Regions from separate parts of the Homo sapiens genome. Here regions 2, 3, 4, 5, 6 and 7 are each linked to region 1. Evidence: promoter capture Hi-C in 16 types of primary human blood cells and fetal thymus (Javierre and others, 2016). All regions are on one chromosome and are shown on one strand. Each heading gives the region's core, a stretch centred on a gene start or on the middle of the fragment in contact. The rest is flanking DNA. Distances are from core to core; before and after follow the strand shown.

Region 1 (2,700 bases), core at 153-2,652:
GTCTCGGACTCCTCATCTCAAGCAATCCTCCCTCCTCAACCTCACAAAGTGCTGGGATTACAAGTGTAAGCCACCCTGCCCAGTCAGACTGAGGGTTCTTGAAGACCACTGGCCATGCTCTTTACAATTTACCACACTTTCTCCTGAAAAAAAGTGGAAGTAGCACTATCCGTAGAAAATAATGTTCTAGGCAAGAGTCCATTAATAGTCTCGGGAGATAAACAGTTTTAACTGCCAAGAGGGAGAACTCACCTGGAGAATTTAATGAATTTGTAAGGACTACCATACAGTTAGCTAGTAATAATTTTATGTGATTCATACAATTGTGCACCATTCTGAGATCAGTGTACTTCGTGTTCTTAACACTATCTGTACCATTAGAGAGCATCAGAAAAGCTTAAAACCCATAGTCAAGGCATTCTTAAAATAGGGTCTGTGATCATAAAAATTCTTTCTCTCGAAGTACTTGCAAATGAACTGGAAAGGTGTGTGCCCCCAAAATAAAACTAACTGTGGATTAATATTAAACTGCTGGGTCAAAGATAGACGGACAACTAATTAATAAACACTTAAGAATGATGTTAGGCTGTTTTGAACAGGGTGGGTAAATTTTGGGAATTAACACTGCAGGAGAAAAGGGAAAGAAAATCCAGAGTGAGGGTGGGGGCCTACGGCGGTGCAATACTTAGGGACATTCCAAAACTTCTGAACTCCTAAGTTAGATAATAGGTATCTAGAGGTGTCAAAACATTTCAGAAAAACTATTTTTGTGGCGTGAGTGGACTGGCTGCAGAAGTGGCAAAGGACAAACTTGGATGCAGGGTTTGGCAAATGTTGGGTGAGCCCTAATCTGTGCCTGGTGCTAGGGACCCTACAGCAAAGTTCCTCTTTTCAAAGTTTAAAAAGTTGGGAGTAGACACTAAATATTATTAAATATTTAATATTAATATGTGGCATATTAGAAAGTGCTACATGGTACTAAGAAAAACAGGTGCCAGAGAGTCTGCATTTGGGCTTCCACTTCTAAATAGGGTAATCAAGGAGACCCTCATATTTGAGTGAAGACCCCAAACTCGAGTGCTGGCGGCCATGTAGGGGGGACGGCAGGGCGGGAGAACGAGCGTCGCGTTAGCAGAATTTACAGTACAATGGGGTCCAACGGATGCCCAGGAAGGCGAAATTCCTGCAAGTTAAACGCACTTCTAACGCAAAACTTAACCAGGCCCCTTTCCAACTATTTAGCCCACCAATTTTAGCTTAAGTCTCTTCTTCCCCACGCCACTCCCAGATGAAAGGAAGACACGCCTCGTTGGCCTCCAGAGCTCTGCGTCCGGGGGGCGGACCTCTCATAGCTCCGCCCCGTGACCCGCGCGCTTGCGGAGGGGAGGTCAAAGGTCAGAGGTAAAGAAGTCATGGCGGCGCTGTGTCGGACCCGTGCTGTGGCTGCCGAGAGCCATTTTCTGCGAGTGTTTCTCTTCTTCAGGCCCTTTCGGGGTGTAGGCACTGAGAGTGGATCCGAAAGTGGTAGTTCCAATGCCAAGGAGCCTAAGACGCGCGCAGGCGGTTTCGCGAGCGCGTTGGAGCGGCACTCGGAGCTTCTACAGAAGGTGGAGCCCCTACAGAAGGTGGAGCCCGGGCGGGTGAGAGGGAGTCGCGGGAATTACGCCAACGACGCGGTGGGCGGGGTCGGGAATAGGGGCGGAGCCTGGCTTAGGAAGGGGAGCTGAGGTCCGGGGCCCAGTTTTCCGGAGTTGCGGTGCGTTGTGGCTCAGCCCTCGGCCCCTAGAATCTGTGCTTGGTGTTTTTCTTCCTTTCGTTGTCCTTTTGTGTGGCATTTGCGTACTGGGCCGGGTCTGTCCACACTGCGCTTGTTTTCCTGGGATTGAATGCTGGTGGGAAGGTAACCAGCGGGGAGCGCTGCTGGGGAGGCGATCTAGGGCGATTCCTGGGACGCTAAGGAGAATGGGACTCACACGGAGAGGCAGGGCTCTGCTGGGTCTTGTTCTGAACAGTAGCTCTAGCATGGAGCTTGCTGTCTGGAGTAGAAGGCCCTTCATAAACATTTGTTAATTTAATGACTGGGTGATGAATCACTTTCTGAACTTGGGCAAGTGATTTAACTTGTCAGCGCTTCACCTCTCTTTTGTAAATGTCTTCTTTTTTTAAAAAGTAAAGTAAAATCTCCGTTTGTCTCAGCCAGTACTTTTGTAAAATACCATAAATTTATAGATAAATGAAATGGAAGAAATAAAATTACAAGCCTAAGTTTTTAATAATTAAACTCAGCAGACATGAAATTGAATTATATACAAATAAACTCTCAATTTCTGTATTTTTCTTCCTAGGGAGTAGTACCAAACAGTTCACAAGACTGGCAGTGTCCTGGGTTATAGGGTCATTTTAGTAGCAATTACTGATGTCAAAATTTTTCTGAAATCCAAGGACTAGAAGAAGCCTGGTATATTAGTTTATTATTTTCTGTTGTAACAAATTACTACAAATTTAGTGGCGTAAAACACAGGAAATGTGTTGTTGTTAGGGTTGTGAGAAGTCAGACGGGATCTCACTGGTCTAAAATCAAGGTGTTGGTGAAGTTGTGTTCTTTTCCGTAGCTTCTAGGAGAATCTCTTCCTGGCCTGTCTTTTCTGCCTCTGTTTTCTACTTTTTTGTTTTTTGGATTTTTTTGTTTGTTTTGTTGTT
Region 2 (2,700 bases), core at 158-2,657, 270 kb after region 1:
TCAAAGTGGCTGGACTGGGTGAGGGTTCCAGGTGCATGTGACGGGGACAGGCACTACTGGGGAGGAATGCAGTGGTATCAGGTGAGTGATGACCCAGGGAGGACGTCATATTTTCCCAGCACCCATTCTGTCTCCGGGTCTGGCTGAGGAGTCGCCGATTGTTCCTATGCAGAAATTTTAGTCCAGTGTTAGCAGATCTTTCAAGTTTCCAAAGGCATCTCCAAATTTGGATTTTTTATGTGAAATTGTCCAATTTTTATTGGTTAGTCACTAATTCACCAAAACCTGTCTTCCAGCAAGACTGAGCCATGGGCAACAACTATTTCTCAGCTTCCAGGGCTCTAATCTGAATGGCTCTCTGGAGGGCTAGAATTTTCTAATATCTTTGTCATCCGTGCTTTGAATACGCTACAATAAATGGGTAAACATAAGCTAAAATAAAATCAACACTGCAGTCTTTAGGCAGCTGTAGGTGATATTATGTAAAGATTACGTGCAGAGTTTTTTAAAAAATTACTTCTGGGCTGTCCAATTTCCTCAAGGTAAAATAAAGCAAGGAGAGAGGTTTCTGCTTCACAGAAACCTCTTCCAAAGGTGTTCTCAACTGGGTCCTTGCATTCCCTTTACCATGGAGGAAGACGAGTTCTCAGCCTGGCAGCCTGAAATGAAAGAGCGAGTGTGTAGCTCGCTTGTGACTCAGCACGCTGAAGTACTAAAAGGCATCATCTGATTTCAGGAAGTAAGACGTCTCAGCAAAAAGCAAGCTGTTTTGAACTTCAACTTGAAATATAATGCCTGCCTTGATCTTGATGAGCTGCAGGGTTTTTCTCTCAGATCCTTCAGTGTTCTGCTCTGGGGCGGGGGGTGGGGAGAGGCGAGAAGAAAGCCAAGGAAAAAGAAATCCAGGCCTTTCTTTTTGAGCTGTCTGTAGGTATTGATAGGCACTTGTCACAGAACTGTTCCCCCAAGCCTGTAAATCCCAGCAAAATTCAAGGTAAACAAATGTCCCTAAGAGATGAGTCTGAGGAACACAGACAGGTATCTGGATTTTGCGTTAATCCACTGCCACATTAGGCTTCTTTATAGTTTGGTTGTAAAATTTCCCATTGAATTTACTCCTATGTTGGTATTTTTTGTTACAGTCAAGTTAAAAGACCATGCCTAAATTTGAAAACTCTTAATCATAGATGGTTGGTAGGTTATCTATGGCTTGATGTAGCAGAAGAGACTTGAAAACGTTATATTTTAGCCAGAAAGAGACTGCCGTTTACCTCTGATAGAGTTGATACCCAAACAGTTTCTGTAGCTACTTTTAGTATTTTTTTTTTTTAAATGCCTCCCCTGGGCATGGTTTTGTTTCTGGTGCTTAGGGGTGTTCCATAAATGCAGCACTGAATCATAAAATTAAAGAATGACATATCTGAGGCTTTGATCATCCTCTTTGACCTCATTTCCTACCACTCGCCCCTCCTCACTGCTCCAGCCACACTTGCTGTCTGCTCTTGTGGGAACGTGCTCTACATGTTTGCATCTCCAGGCCTTTGTGTTGGCCGTTCCCTCTGCCTGGAATGCTTTTCCCCCAACGGTCTGCTGACCTATCTGTAATCTCTACTTGCGGCTCTGCTCAAAGGTCACCTTCCCCACCAGGTCTTTCCTTGCAACTCTATTTAAAACAATCATCCCACTCTCAGTCTCTCATCCCCACATCTGCCTCTCCCTACCTCCCTTTCTTCTTTTGTTTATCTCCACCGTACCCAGAATTATCTGACAGAATAGATACTTCATTGACTGTTTATTATCTGTTTTTGCCTGGTTTGTTCACTTCTACAGTTCTGTCACTTAAAATTGCCTAGCACATTAGAGGCTCTCAGTAAGTATTTGTTGAATGAGTGAATGAATCCTATCCACCCCCTTGGTCTCCACTAAGAAGCAGAGCAACCGGGCAGGGTGGCTCATGCCTGTAATCCCAGCACTTTGGGAGGCAGATGCGGGCGGATCACCTGAGGCCTGGAGTTTGAGACCAGCCTGACCAACATGGAGAAACCCATCTCTACTAAAAAAAAACAAAAAACCAAACAAACAAACAAACAAAAATAGCCAGGTGTGGTAGCACATGCCTATAATCACAGCTACTTGGGAGGTTGACTGGAGAATTGCTTGAGCCCAGCAGGTGGAGGTTGTGGTGAGCCGAGATTGCGCCATTGAACTCCAGCCTGAGCAAAACTGTCAAAAAAAAAAAAAAAAAAAAAAAAAAAAGCAGAGCAAAAGAGAGCCAGACAGGCAGGTCTTTATCCTCCAGCCCCCACCTTCACTACTCCCAGGGAAGATAATTTTATGTTTCACTTCAGTACTTCCTCTTCACTATTATAAAATTCTGCTTTTATTTATTTTATTTATTTTTATTTTTATAGAGAGACAGGGTCTTGGTATGCAAACTTCTGGACTCAAGCGATCCTCCCACCTTGGCTTCCTAAAGTTTTGGGATTACAGGTGTGAGCCACTGCGTCCAGCCAAAATTCTGCTTTAAAAAAAAACCAAACTCAAACATCATTCTTCAAGTCTATTTCCTTATTTATTTATTTCCTTATTTATTCCCACTTCTGTGTGCCTAGTGGGAATGTAGGGATATTGGTCACCTTTCTTTTCTTTTTTTTTTTTTGGAGGTGGAGTCTCGCTCTCCACCTCCCAGGTTCAAACAAT
Region 3 (2,700 bases), core at 156-2,655, 410 kb after region 1:
TTAATTGCTTCTTCTGAGCCAACCTTCATTTAAGAAGAAGAAGGCTCTTCTTTAGGAGGAAGAAGGGCTGGCCAGGTGGGTTCTAATCACAAGAACTGCAAAACGTCTGATGCTGTTGTCAGAGGGACTCAATTAACATTTTATTTCACTTTTCATTACATAGAAAGTATTTTTCAAAAAGCAAATGACGCAGTTTTTGATTGCGCTCCTTGTTCCCTCTTTACTCATTCTAAATGCATGCACATGGGTATTTATATCTAATGACAATTTAAAAACTCAACTTCTTGCATTTATATACTACTTGACAGACACTAATCACTTTCACGTTTTTTTCCTTGAGTCTGAAAAAGACCCTCTGATATGGACAAGGCAGTTCACATGGCTATTTTACAGATGCTGAATTAGAGGAACAAACAGGAAAATTGACCTGACCAAGGTGCGTCAGCAAGAGTAAAGACTGAAACTCAGAATCCCTTCTGGGCTCTTCCTTCCATGCAGCACCAGCAGCACTGGTGGAGAAGGGCAGAGCTGATGGGGACTTAGACTCTGACCTCTTGACGCCTTGTTGCAGAGCTCCACAGAGGACGTAACTCACATGCTGTCCTGGCCTGCTGCTTGGGGACCCTACAGGTCACTGCTGTTTTAGGTCTACTCCAAGTGTGGTTCTGAATCAGCCTCATCAGCACCACCTGGGAGCTTGTTAGAAATGCAAATCCATGGGACCTGCTTCAGACCTAATAGAGTGAGAACCTCTGGGGGTGGAGGCTAGCTCCTCAAACGCTGCTGATTCTCAGTAAAATTTGGGAAGCATTTTAATTAAAGAATTCTCTGGCCAGATTGGTTGATGGACTCATTAAATATTTAAATTTTTCAGCCTTTTGGTGGATCTTGGTACTTCCTAGTTGATGTTACTAGTGTATCATTATGTACTATCTTGTAATATTGTAGGGCAGTTTAACAAAATTGTTAAGATGGTGAAATTGTGAGATGGTGACTTCCATTTATAGTTATAAATTACCATTATTACTATTGAACTTTCTGACATGTACAGGATCTTTTTTTCTGCAAAAGACTAAATCCACCAAGGGTGAGGAACATTTTTATTTTTGTTCTCATAATACCTGGCACAGGCTTCAGAACAAAGTTGGTGCTCCAATCTATTTTACTTTAGTTAGTGACACTGACTATCAATGACTTTAAACTGAAGACAAATATGCCTCGTGTATGACTATTCTCACTGTGCATGTTTTATTACAGGACAGTGGAGGGAGTGCTAAACCTTATTTTGCATGAATGTGTATATATGTATGAAATAGGCACATACATGATATATAACATATTTATATATTACATATAAATATTTTGATAGGTAAATAATATACACAACTTTATTATATGTAATATATATATTATATGTTATAATATATATATAATATATATTAGACCTGTGTTCCGAGTCTGCCTCTGAGGCTTGCCACTGAATAAATTATTTGAGCTTAAATTTACCAATCTTTAAATAAGACAACTTGTATAGTATGCCCATCTCAGAGGGATTATATGAAGATTCAAAAGGATGAAGCAGGTGAATGTTTTCTAAAAATGACAAGGTCCCATATAGATAGATCATGCGATTTAATTTTTCTTTTGAACATTTTTTAGTCTTCTATGCTTGCCTGCTCCTTTTAAAAAACTATATAAGAAAAAAATCATCAGAAATATAATAAAAAGATAATTTTTAAAGTGACAAGAGTGCAGGATCATGTAATATGTCATTAAAAGACTAGAACAACTTTGGTAATTTTTCATGTGTTTGAATATTTATTATGAGAAGGGTGCTAATTGGAATTTCTCAGATAAAGCTGTAAGACTTAAATAATAACAATAGATATTTTTGTTGGAAATAAAAAGTAACTCTGCATTAATAAAAATAATTATGTTCTGAAGCAGAGTTCCCAGGGAGGCTGCAATAAGTCTATCCTAAAAGTGCCTGAGATGATTAATGTTCTTCCCGAGAGTCTGGAAATGATAACAGTACCATCTTGATGGGATTTTCTGGTCTCAGTTTTGTAACAGTCAATATATTATAAGTTGGGGTTGTTTCGTGTGAGTTAGGTTGCTCCTCACTAGGAAGCCCAAACTGGGAAACTATTATTATAATAGGTTTACTGTGAGCAGCTTTGTTAATGGAAGTTAAACTTTATGGCTGCATTTCATAAGGAAAAAAAACTTCCAAAGACAGAGTAGAATGCTAATAAAAATTTAATTTACACTTTAACATGCTCTCTTGTAAAAGTATTTGTGGGACTAGGTTTAGATAAATTTCACTCAATTCTCTTTATCCTGATATAAAGACATACAACTAAAAGATGGACAGATTTATTATCCTGATGATCTATTGTTATATTGGGTACTTGTACTAATGGTTAATGTGCGAACTCCAACATCCAAAATACAATTATTCCAGAAGAATAACTGCTAAATGGGCACTCTTGCAGGCGTTGCTTTACAATCTTTGTAAAAAAAAAAAAATCATTCAGTCCTAGGCAATATTTTTGCCCTATAAAAATAAATTATTTTAAATGTGCTCTATGAGAACTGTAATTATCTATTTCTTGCCATAAAATAAATTTTGAAACCCATAACTTTCCAGAGTATTAAATATTTTACTCTGGAGGTCAACAACAAGTGAGAACAAACTTA
Region 4 (2,700 bases), core at 186-2,685, 370 kb after region 1:
GCAGCTTATGTTACGTTGGCAGTGTCATGCCTTTTGGCTTTACTGTTATTACTGACCCTCTTTTAAATTTCTAATTTAATAGGAGTAACTTCATTCAAACAAAATGCTAAATATTACTTCCAATATAAAACTTTGTCTTATTTTAGGAAAAAGCAAAGTAGTTTTAGTATACACATTCACAATATGTAAACCACAATTTTGTATTAAATCCACCTATGTGATATACATCAAATCAAAGTAAATATGGTATTTCCTTTTTATTGAGGAGATAAAAGATCTTGACTGACACTGGCCAAAGATCCTATTAGATTTGAAAAGCACCTCATTAGCTATGAAATACCAGAAAAAAATGTGGTCCTAGAATTTCTCTGGGCTGCATTATGTGACGTGGGATAGACTGCTGAGAGCTGAGATTTAAATCAGAACAGGCTACGAACCACTAGTTCTCAAATCTGGCTGCATATTGGAACTATATGGAGAGTTTTTAAAATGTATGGATGCTGGGTCCCATCCTTGGAGATTCTGTGGGTTGATGTCAGGAATTTTAAGCACTCTTTGGGTTGATTATTTGCAGGAAAAGTGGTGTGCAGATGTACATGTATGCATGTATGGGGGAGGGCACTAAATTTGGTTGGGAGTGGAAAGAGTACAAAAATGAGCTGAGCATGGCTGGGCTAGGTGAAGAGAAAAAAACACACAGAGGAAAAAAATGGTCCGTTAAAAGCTAGCACTTCTGGAAATATTAGATAAAATATGGAAAATTTTTGAACTATTTTACAATTGAAATCAAGAAGGATATGCCCTGGCTGGGCACGGTGGCTCACACCTGTAATCCCAGCACTTCGGGAGGCCGAGGTGGGTGGATCACTTGAGGTCAGGAGTTTGAGACCAGCTTGGCCAACACGGCAAAACCCTGTCTCTACTAAAAATACAAAAATTAGCTGGGCGTGGTGGTATACGCCTGTAATCTCAGCTACTTGGGAGGCTGAGACATGAGAATCACTTGAACCCAGGAGGCAGAGGTTGCAGTGAGCTGAGATCGTGCCACTGCACTCCAGCCTGGGCGACACAGCGAGACTCTATCTCAAAAAAACAAACAAACAAAAAAGGAGGCTATGCCGTGTGTTTGGGTATGTGTAATTTGAAAAACAAAAATGCTCCAGGACTGCCAGTGATATAAATCTTGCATTGAGGCCTAATTGAGAATGCTGCAATAAGATCAGCAGGTACCGTTCCTAGCAACTTCACTTAATTGTTTTAGGGCCTAGGATGTGAGAAGAAGGTTGAGTCACAGTGATCTCAAAGAGATCACACAGTGGCCCTCTGCTGTCCATGTTATGAGCACTGGTCAAGCGGGAACATCCTTAGTTCTCTGGAGAAGTGCAAAGTGGTGGCAGATGGAGGAAGACTGACTGGTTGAAGGTCAGGGGAGTAAACTTTAGCAAATGGAACTTTGCTCCCCTGTATCTGAGTAAAACATGTGTTCCTATACCGCCATAAATCACCTGGAGAGAGCCAAATTCTGTTGCCTCTTCCAAATCGTGACTTGACTCACTTGGGTGAAACGCAATGACATTGTTCTGAGAGTATAAAAACACTAGCTTATAAATACAAATTTAATCCGAACTTTCATGTTTCGGATAAGGCATCAGGTAACTATTCCGGTTCTTGCCCAAGTCAGCAGTACTCGTCCACGGACCTCTGAGAGCCTCAGTGTCTTACTGCTGCATCAGAGCCCACACACCCTTCCCCAGCAATGCTTTCAAAAATTCCTCACGAGCACAAATGAAGATCTCCATGCAATTATATCTTTAAAAGTTTTCATGCCTGATTTCCTTTGTTTCTAGTTGGATATTTGCAGTCAGAGACTGAGAATGAAAACAGAATCATCAGAACTTCAGGATAAGGTTTTTTGAACCTTAGATGAGAAGGGCCATCTCTAACAGAAGACATGAAACTCTGAGAAATAGAAAACAGGAGGCTCATCTAATTAAACTCTCAGGGCTCTGATGACAGGCACACTCCTGTTTTGCTCTGCATCTCCAATGCCTATCACACAAAGGCACTTGCTACTGGCGGGAAGGGTGACTGACTGCTCAGAAAAGGATTGAGGCGTCTTTCTCAAACATCCCATTTCTCAATGCTTATTCCAATTTCTGGAAACGGACACAGCTAAACTACTCACAGCTATACTGTATATTTTCAAAGGAAAGGTTTTTTGAGGGGATAGGTGGGAGACAGCATAGAGAGTACAAAAGTGAAAGACAGCATTTTTCAGAAGAACTCCAGCACAGCTCCTCCTGACTCATGGGAATGAATATATGTTTAGGTTGTTGAAGAGAAGGGCACCAGGATACCAGAACTGGATGAAACATCCCCTATGAGCTAATCTTTGCTATGGTCCCATGTGATGCTATTATACCCTAGAATGGGCTTACCAGTGTTCATAAATACCCTGGCCTTTTCTGGCAAATATATTTTTCTAATTTAATATTTTAATTAAATATATATTTAATGTCATATATTAAACAAATATTAAATCAAATGTTATTTATACTTATATCAATATAATATATAGACATTAATATTTCCAGTGTAACATTTTTCCTACAGATTGCCTCGTGAGGCTTGTATAGAAGTCTTACACATTTCAAAAGCATGAATCAGCCTCCCTGAATCCACTCACCATGGGAAAATTTG
Region 5 (2,700 bases), core at 167-2,666, 460 kb before region 1:
CTCTAAGGAGATCATTATTAGAGGATTTGGGTTAAAGAGCTAAATAAGCACAAAGCACTAAAATAAACTGCCAATATCATTTGCTAAACTCAATAAATTAATAAATTCTTAGTGCCAGAGACAAAATCTCAAAATAGGTCCCTAATAACTCCAGGTATCTTTGCCTCTTTGGTTCCTTCTTTAACGTTCTATGTCCACTTTTAGTATACTGATAACATCAGATATCACTGATAAGTTAAAAAAAATTACTATTTCCACAACTGGTCTTTTCAAATGTAGTGACCTTTTCTAACCTCTCTCCCAAAAAGGAAAACACAATTAGCTCAGACATTAGTCTAAACTGGCTAAACAAGGAGATTTTAAAGAAACAGACATTCAGAGCTAAATATGAAATCTTGAATTTTTTTATTTGTAAAGATGCCATTTAGTAAAACTTTAGTCTGGATGAGACCTCAATATCAAGTCTTCCAAAATTTAGAAAATATAGGTAAGTGTCCAGTTAGTTAAAATCCTTATAACCTATTATCTAGATGTTCAATATTTCCAGAACATAGGCTACAAAATAGTAAATATTTTACTCAAAGGAAAATGCTTGAAAAGTCCTAACTTTACATATTTATTTAATAAACATTAAATGAATACCTACTTTGGCCAGGGTCTACACTAGGAAGCAAAATGATTCAGTTGCTAATTTGAAGTTACTGTTAGTGGGTAAGACTCTTAAGGTGTTATAAGAGCAGAAAGCATGTGTATCTAATCCAGTTTTTTGTTTTTAAAGTGTGGGGATGCTTTTTCGAAGAAACAAGACCTGAGCAGAGCTTTAAAGGATCCAAGAGTGGGATGGGTGGATGAGCACTTCAAGTAAATGCGACGGCATTTAAAAAAAAAAAAAACAACAAAACAAAAACCCAGCATTTTAAAAAAACATAAGATGGTCTATAGCATCCTCAAAAGTTAAGATTTGTAAAAGAACTTCAATGTGATTTTCTAAAAAGCCCTACGGAATGCAAATATGCACTTGGGCACATTTCAGAGGTAAATGTCCATCCATTTTGACAAGAGCGCCATGTAATCTCAGCACTTTGGAAGGCGACAGGATGGCTGGTAGCCAGGAGTTCAAGACCAGCCCAGTCAACATAGAGAAACCCTATCTCCTTAAAAAAAAAAAAAAAGAGAGAGAGAGATTTGAATCCCCTTCTCCCTCCCAAATATTAGAACCATTGCTATAGGCACCTTACAGAGTTTTCAGAAGCAGTGATATAATCGAAATAGCAAAGAGGAGAGATGCCTATGGCAGCAAGGTGGAGATTTATTATCAGGGAATGAAGACTGCAGATACTGTGATCAGTTGGAAAGCTATTTTTCCTTTTTTTTTTTTTTTTTTTGAGACAGTGTCACTCTGTCACCCAGGCTGGAGTGCAGTGGTTAGATCATGGCTTATTGTACCCTCAACCTCCTGGGTTCAAGGGATCCTCCTGTCTCAGTCTCCCAAGTAGCTGGGACTATAAGATGTGTGCCACCACGCCCAGTTATTTTATTTTTTTAAATTTTTGTAGAGATAAGAGTCTCCCTGTGTTGCCCAGGCTTGTCTCAAACTCCTGGGCTCAAGCAATCCTCCTGCTTTGGCCTCCCAGAGTGCTAAGTTTACAGGTGTGAGCCATGTACCCTCTGGAAAGCTACTGTTAATAGGGCAACATACATGCCAGAAAAAAAAGACCTTAATTAGGGAAGATAGGTGTCAATGAGGTGTGAAGCAGAGCCTAGAAAAATAGTCTAAAAATCATCAGAACTTGCATGATAAAACAGATGTAAAGGGTGGAGGGAGAGAATCATAGGGTCATCAGCATTCCAGCTTGGGGCCTAAACAACGCCACCAACTTGTAGAGAATACAAGACCATCACCCAGTCTCCTACACTTTTGCGGGGGTAGAGGAAGAGAGGCTAACTTCAGTTACAAGTAATAGAAAGTCAAACAGCACACCTGTAGTCAATCCGTTAACAATAGGAAAATGTTATTCAGTTAAAGAAACAAGCAATTAGTATTTACTACCCTACTCAATTACAGCCCTTTTCCAATAACTGAATTAGCAGAAAAGACATTTCCAACACAAACATTTAAGTGTAAACTAAAAGCATTGAAAACATAAAAATATTACTCTGCAGCAACCCACTGGAATATACTGAAAGAACAAAAACAGTAATTTCTATTTCCAAATTTTAGAACAAATTCATTTTATAGAAGGAAGACAAACAAGGCCATAGCAAGTTTTGCCAAATACATGCTAGTGGCAATGACAAATCATAACAGTTGGTAGAGAAAAAGACAAGAAGGTCTCTTTTGCAGTTTTCTGATCACCTCTATATCTCTGAGTGATGGCATCCTCTTTGGTAGCTTAAGTACTATCCCCAGAAATTCTAATCCTGTGAGTGTTAGGGAGCAGACAGACGATGGTTATTCAGGTTATTTTTTATTTTTTATTTTTGAGACGAAGTTTCGCTCTTGTTGTCCAAGCACAAGGGCGCGATCTCGGCTCACCACAACCTCTGCCTTCTGCGTTGAAGCGATTCTCCTGCCTCAGCCTCCCGAGTAGCTGGGATTACAGGCATGCGCCACCACGCCCGGCTCGGTTTTTTTTTTTTGTTTTGTTTTTAAATTAGAGACGGGGTTTCTCCATGTTGGTCAGGTTGGTCTCGAACTCC
Region 6 (2,700 bases), core at 74-2,573, 310 kb after region 1:
TTGCATTATATTATAAGTAGGCATTTGCCCTTTTCTTCTTCTTTAGACTATGCGCTGTTTGAGAGCAGTAACTATTTCTTATACAACTGTCTAGATCGTAACAGGCACTTGTAAATATTTGTTGGCCAACCCTTGTCTCTGCACATTAATAAGTTATTTAAACTCACAGCAGTTTTATGGAAGAGATATGATTAGCCCCACTTTACAGAAGAAGAGACTAAGGTTTAAGTTACTGAGTTACTTATCCCAAGTCCTGCAGCTAGTAGGTGGGAGAGCCAGGTTAACAACCGTCAGTAAGAACCCAGAACATGATCCCCAAATCAACTTGACACCAAAACTCAAGGTCTTAAGCCAGATGCTGTTTTCCCTGTCTAATCACGAGCCATGCTTGGCAGGCATTCAAATCTTGCTGTTGACTGATGTGATGTGCTTTTTTGTCAAGTTTGGCTAACTGGGTTTCCCCTACTGTTTTCTAACTTCTCTGATAATAAAAATATATTCCTTCCATGCTGCTGTTATCTGAGCTCCAGAGATTCCCTCCCCCATCAAATCTGTCTCTTTCCCAAGGAGTACTATGTTTCCTAGTAAAGGACATTTAGTTGTTTTCTACTTCTACTTTTCTGATCATACATTTAAAAGTTTCTTTTTTGGAGTATTTCATATCAGTTTTGGATAAAAATAATACGTTTCCTGAGAAATATGAAAACGTTGGCCCCTATGGGAAAGTGTGATTTGGCTCTAATTGGTGTCTTTTATGGCCTCCAGGGAGTGCTAAGGTGGGAGGCTGCATGGGCTATGGCTCCACTGCAGGTCAAACCAGGCTCAAGTGGGAATGAGCATGACCTTATTGTTTCCAGACCTTTAGGGACAGCTAGTGTGCCCTTATTAATGGGATCTAGTTGTGCTGTGAGTTTAGGGGACAGTAGGGTGTGGGGAGCCAGAGTTGTGGACACTGGAGAGCAGGGTTAGTAGACCCCAGTTGCACATCTATTTTAATGAGCTCAAAAGATTTCAAACTCTCTGGCTTTGTGTGCTGACACACCCTGGGGTGAGGTGTGGAAAAATCATCATGGCTCAGCAATTGAGGATTTCAGAGGTAGAATGAGAGGCATGAGCCTGCTGACTGGGATCCCAGTACATCTGGAGCTGAAAGATGTGACTGGGCCAAAAGGGGCTGGTGTGCATGAAGTCTGGGAGATCGAGTAGAGAAATCCGCCACCTGGTTAGTGAGTCCAGCACTTCTCACTGGTTGACTCATTAAAATTATGTTAGTCTTGTCCAATGGACCCACTTGCCTTTTCTGCTAGAGAAAGTTCACAGCCTCCATTGATGGATGAGAAGGTGGGAGAGAGGAATGCAGAGCCAGGAAGCCCAGTTTACTTGTAAAAAAAAAAAAAAGAAGAAAGAAAAAGGAAGGCTGGGCGCTGTGGTTCAGGCTGTGGCTCACACCTGTAATCCTAGCACTTTGGGAGGCTGATGTGGGCGGATCACTTGAACTCAGGAGTTCAAGACCAGCCTGGCCAACAGGATGAAACCCCGTCTCTACTAAAAATACAAAAATTAGCCAGGCATGGTGGAGGGCGCCTGTAATCCCAGCTGCTGGGGAGGCTGACGCGGGAGAATTGAGTGAGCCCCGAAGGCTGAGGTTGCAGTGAGCCGAGATCACACCACTGCACTCCAGCCTGGGTGACAGAGAGACATTCTGTCTCAAAAAAAACAAAAACAAACAAAAAAAAACAACAACAAACCAACAACAACAACAACAAAAAAAAGCAAAAAAGGAAAAGAAAATAGAAAAAGGAAGGTCAGTGTTGAAGCTGCCTGGGCAAATCTGTGAAGAGAGAATTTAGTCAAGGGACTACTAAATTAAAAACAATAGTATAACACGTACACGTGGGCACACACACATGCATGCACACAACCAAGCCCATATGCTGCATGTTGAAGCCTAAAATCACTGCCGAATTTGTGTCCATGTGTAAATTATTTTACTGTTTACAGTAACTGATTCAAACCTCCAGCATTGCTAAAGTGTGTAGGATCTTTTTCCTCTCCTTACTTGAGTCTCATTGGATTGCTGCTGGTACTAGTCGGTTAGCTATTTGCTAGCTGGTCCCCAGCAACTGGTTTAATTTTTATTCTATTGATAGTGTGAACTGTTTAACTGATGACTCATATTAAACATTTGCTGAATGTAAGGTGTTCTGCTGGAGAGTTGACTTGTATAGTTGACAGCTCTGAGAGTCAGGTATTATCATTCCCATTATATAGAAGAGGAAACTGAGACTTAGAATGTTCAATGACTTGCACTCAAGGCCGCACAGCTGGTTAGAACTGGGATTCAAATATAGTCTTTTCTAACTGCAAGTTCCTCCATGGGATTGATACATTTTCCCCGACTGAGGTTTCTTTTCTGTATTGGCTGCTAGGCTTCTGAAGCCAAAGTCATAGCCTATTTCTAGCAAGTGTGAAGCACTTGATGAGATGTATTAAATATACTGAATTAAATCCTGGTTTTATTTTCATTACCCTTATTTCCCCTTTCCAAGATTTATTTACTTATCTGTGTCTTATTAATATCTATCTATCTATCTACACATTTATTTATTGAATAGACTGTCTCAAATTTTTTGGACAAGCTATTTGGTGGTGTAGTAGTAAATAGGAAGAAAATACCTATGTAAAGAAATAACTTTCTAG
Region 7 (2,700 bases), core at 78-2,577, 330 kb after region 1:
TTTGTATTTCAGGTGACAAAATAAAGAGATACATGTTGCTTTTCACCAGACTAGAATGACAACAGCATGCAGCTGGCTGAGATTCATCTGGAAAACGAACCTTCTGGTGGAGGTGGAGGGATCTAATCTGCACATAGCAGGGTTGTCTAGACCCCAAGAAGAAGTGAATTCACTGTTGGTTGGTGGCTGAAAGCATTTCTTCACCCTTCATATGGTTGTACTGATGAACTAAAGAATATAATCCATGGTAGGAAACTTCCCGTGGGCCTTTGCTACTAAAATTACCTAAGTTACCCCTGACTCCTCTATTGGAAAATGTATTGCCAACTCAGTGAAAATCTTATGTCATAGGCAGTTAAGCAGTTTTTTTTTCCCCTATTTTATCATGGGCAGAGACCAATTTGGAGATACATACATTTGAGTCACAAACAGCACTCCCAGCCTGAGTTATTCATGCCCAAATTCCTCAATGTCTAATAACAAAAATGTCTCTTCTCATTAGGAATGTCAGAAACAGAGTTTTCCCCTGGGAGTCTAAATAAAATCACACATCTGGATTGGAAATTTAAAAAAATTGTCCAGATACTTCTACATAGTTGGAAGTTTAGCATAATACAAACATTTAGAGTGAGCTTTTCCCCTCCAGTCACAGAGTTATTCCTGTTCCTTTGTAGATAAATGATTAAATGCTATTACAAGGTAGAAACTCCAATTGTGAAGATGAACTCTGAACTATTAAGCCTTCAAGACTTCATTCTGTAAGAGTCAATTCTAGAGAGTTCTTGATGATCAGGTTGTAGAGCAATGTATTCAAAAACCATGAAGCAAATATTCAAAACATTCTGTGGCCTGGCTATATCCAGGATCAATTATTCACAATATTGGGAGATACTACTGCATCAGTAATCTTGTAAAAATTCATAAAGGGACTTCAGCATGCAACTGAGGCTGGGACCCACTGTAGTCTAAGCCATGTTACATGTGTGGTGGGGTATTGATCTTCTCAGCTCTTAGGGGGCTACAGCCCCTGTGCAGGAGCAGGTCACCTCTAGCCCTCAATCCTGCTTATCTGGGTTATGAAGAAATATGATTATTTTCTATGTGAAATAGGCTGAGAACACCTGGTGGTTTAAAATCAACCCTTTCATTTATAGAAAGTGCTATGGTCTGAATGTGTCTCCAAACTCATGTGTTGGAAATTTAATTTCCAATGCAACAGTGTTAGGAGATGGGACCTTTTGGGAGATGTTTCAGCCAGGAGGGTTCTGCCCTCATGAATGAATTAATGCTGATATAATAAGGGCTTGCAGGAGTGGGATCACTTTCTCTTGCCCCTTCTGCCTTCTTCCCTGTAAGGACACAGCAGGAAGAACCTCACCAGATGCTGGCACCTTGATTTTGGACTTCCCAGCCCCTAGAACTGTGAGAATTAAATTTCTGTTATTTATAAATTGCCTAGTCTCAGGTCTTTTGTTATGGTGGCACAAAATCAATTAAGATGGGTCATCAGCCCGAGTGCCATGAAGTCAGTGTAGGCAGCCATTAGGTCAATCAGGTAAGCTGGTGGCTTCCAACAGAGGGTGCCTACTATGGATGTGCTTTGTTTCTTTCTCTCTCCACCACCCCCTGTCACTTCTCTTTTCTCCTGTCTGCTGGCCTGCTTACCTGTTATTCAATTTACTTACTTATATTATTTTGCCAACAGTTTTCAGAGGAGAGTCTTAGGAAAACATTATTATAAATCTTTAATAAGTATAAGAGATGAGCGATTGTTTGAATGAACTTTACACTGTTGCTTAGACACCTCCTCCTCTGGATTTACCTATGGAAGTCCCTTAATCTGGAATTCTATTTTTCACACACTTTCTTGTGTCTTGGGATTTACTTACTTGATCTCTCACTGGAATCCTCTTATCTATATTTCCCCATATACACACCTTTCCCATACTTCATGATTCACTTACAAATGCTGTCTTCTCTGCACACCCCTGCAATCAGAAATATAATCTCTTGCATTTTTGAACTGTTTTAGCACTTTGCATGCTTTTTAATTTTATTATTATTTTAAACTGACAAAACTATATATACTAATGGTGTATAACATGATGTTTTGGCATATATATGTATTATGAAATGGCTAAATCAAGATAATTAAGCTAAGCATTACTTTTCATACTTACATTTTTGTGGTTGCATCTTATGCCTTAAAGCACCTATCACTTTGTACAGCAAGCAGGTGGGTGTTTGTATACAGGACTTACCTGCTGGTGATGAATATTTTTGGTGGCCTATCAAGCTCCCATTTTCCTTGTGGCAGGTTTCATTTTCCAAAAGAAGTTGCAACAACAATTCCAGTGTCACATATTCTTCCAGAACCTTGCCACTGAGCAAGGAAAATTCACTTTTCCTCTTTTCTATCACAAGGTCAAAGGGTAATCCTGTCCCATTTGCTACTGATTGTTTCAGGATTCAATTCAGATCCAAATGCAAGAGGACAGGTTTGTTGGGGACTCCTTAATTTGTTTTCTTTTTCTGGGAAAAGTTCTGGAAGCAACTTTTACCCTCTTCTTTTAGATCTTGTCATGTGCAGACGTAGGGTCTAGAACCACTACACCTATATCATTACCAGTCTGAGATGAGTCTTCCTCATGGAAGAGAGCAGAGGCCAAGAGTATTGCAGAGGAATGGAGCTAGAGTCAC

The links. The method cuts DNA at HindIII sites, captures the fragments that hold promoters and counts their contacts. A CHiCAGO score of 5 or more calls a contact.
Region 2: a contact is called between a fragment that was not itself captured here and the fragment with the promoter of MRPS28 in region 1, in 14 of 17 cell types (megakaryocytes, non-activated CD4 T cells, endothelial precursors and 11 more). The highest score is 12.6, in megakaryocytes.
Region 3: a contact is called between a fragment that was not itself captured here and the fragment with the promoter of MRPS28 in region 1, in 1 of 17 cell types (megakaryocytes). The highest score is 5.7, in megakaryocytes.
Region 4: a fragment that was not itself captured here is called in contact with the fragment with the promoter of MRPS28 in region 1 in 1 of 17 cell types (M2 macrophages); the score reaches 5.6 in M2 macrophages.
Region 5: a fragment that was not itself captured here is called in contact with the fragment with the promoter of MRPS28 in region 1 in 1 of 17 cell types (fetal thymus); the score reaches 5.5 in fetal thymus.
Region 6: a fragment that was not itself captured here is called in contact with the fragment with the promoter of MRPS28 in region 1 in 5 of 17 cell types (M0 macrophages, M1 macrophages, M2 macrophages and 2 more); the score reaches 7.7 in M0 macrophages.
Region 7: a contact is called between a fragment that was not itself captured here and the fragment with the promoter of MRPS28 in region 1, in 7 of 17 cell types (M2 macrophages, M0 macrophages, M1 macrophages and 4 more). The highest score is 10.3, in M2 macrophages.

What each region holds. Positions count from the first base shown.
Region 1 is chr8:80,028,961-80,031,660 of GRCh38, reverse strand. MRPS28 (mitochondrial ribosomal protein S28) reads left to right here and starts at 1,402. Exons shown (of 3, transcript NM_014018.3): 1 at 1,402-1,625. The coding sequence starts at 1,413. All of the region lies in intron 5 of TPD52-MRPS28 (TPD52-MRPS28 readthrough), which reads left to right. It also overlaps a transcript of TPD52 not described here. RefSeq lists an enhancer at 1,250-1,679. The HindIII fragment of the contact is 3,845 bases long and covers 399-2,700 here.
Region 2 is chr8:79,759,093-79,761,792 of GRCh38, reverse strand. No RefSeq gene overlaps it. Among named protein-coding and RNA genes, the nearest start is that of HEY1, 7.3 kb to the left of the region's middle. The HindIII fragment of the contact is 5,303 bases long and covers 1-2,700 here.
Region 3 is chr8:79,618,898-79,621,597 of GRCh38, reverse strand. All of the region lies in intron 1 of STMN2 (stathmin 2), which reads right to left. LOC105375916 (a long non-coding RNA gene) reads left to right here. Exons shown (of 3, transcript XR_007060974.1): 3 at 394-466. Among named protein-coding and RNA genes, the nearest start is that of STMN2, 9.1 kb to the right of the region's middle. The HindIII fragment of the contact is 3,015 bases long and covers 1-2,700 here.
Region 4 is chr8:79,655,278-79,657,977 of GRCh38, reverse strand. All of the region lies in intron 4 of STMN2 (stathmin 2), which reads right to left. Among named protein-coding and RNA genes, the nearest start is that of STMN2, 46 kb to the right of the region's middle. The HindIII fragment of the contact is 4,240 bases long and covers 1-2,700 here.
Region 5 is chr8:80,493,608-80,496,307 of GRCh38, reverse strand. The region is part of intron 1 of ZBTB10 (zinc finger and BTB domain containing 10); the gene reads right to left. Among named protein-coding and RNA genes, the nearest start is that of ZBTB10, 8.7 kb to the right of the region's middle. The HindIII fragment of the contact is 4,137 bases long and covers 1-2,700 here.
Region 6 is chr8:79,718,294-79,720,993 of GRCh38, reverse strand. The region is part of intron 1 of LOC124901965 (a long non-coding RNA gene); the gene reads left to right. Among named protein-coding and RNA genes, the nearest start is that of HEY1, 48 kb to the left of the region's middle. The HindIII fragment of the contact is 3,442 bases long and covers 1-2,700 here.
Region 7 is chr8:79,700,559-79,703,258 of GRCh38, reverse strand. No RefSeq gene overlaps it. Among named protein-coding and RNA genes, the nearest start is that of HEY1, 66 kb to the left of the region's middle. The HindIII fragment of the contact is 3,579 bases long and covers 1-2,700 here.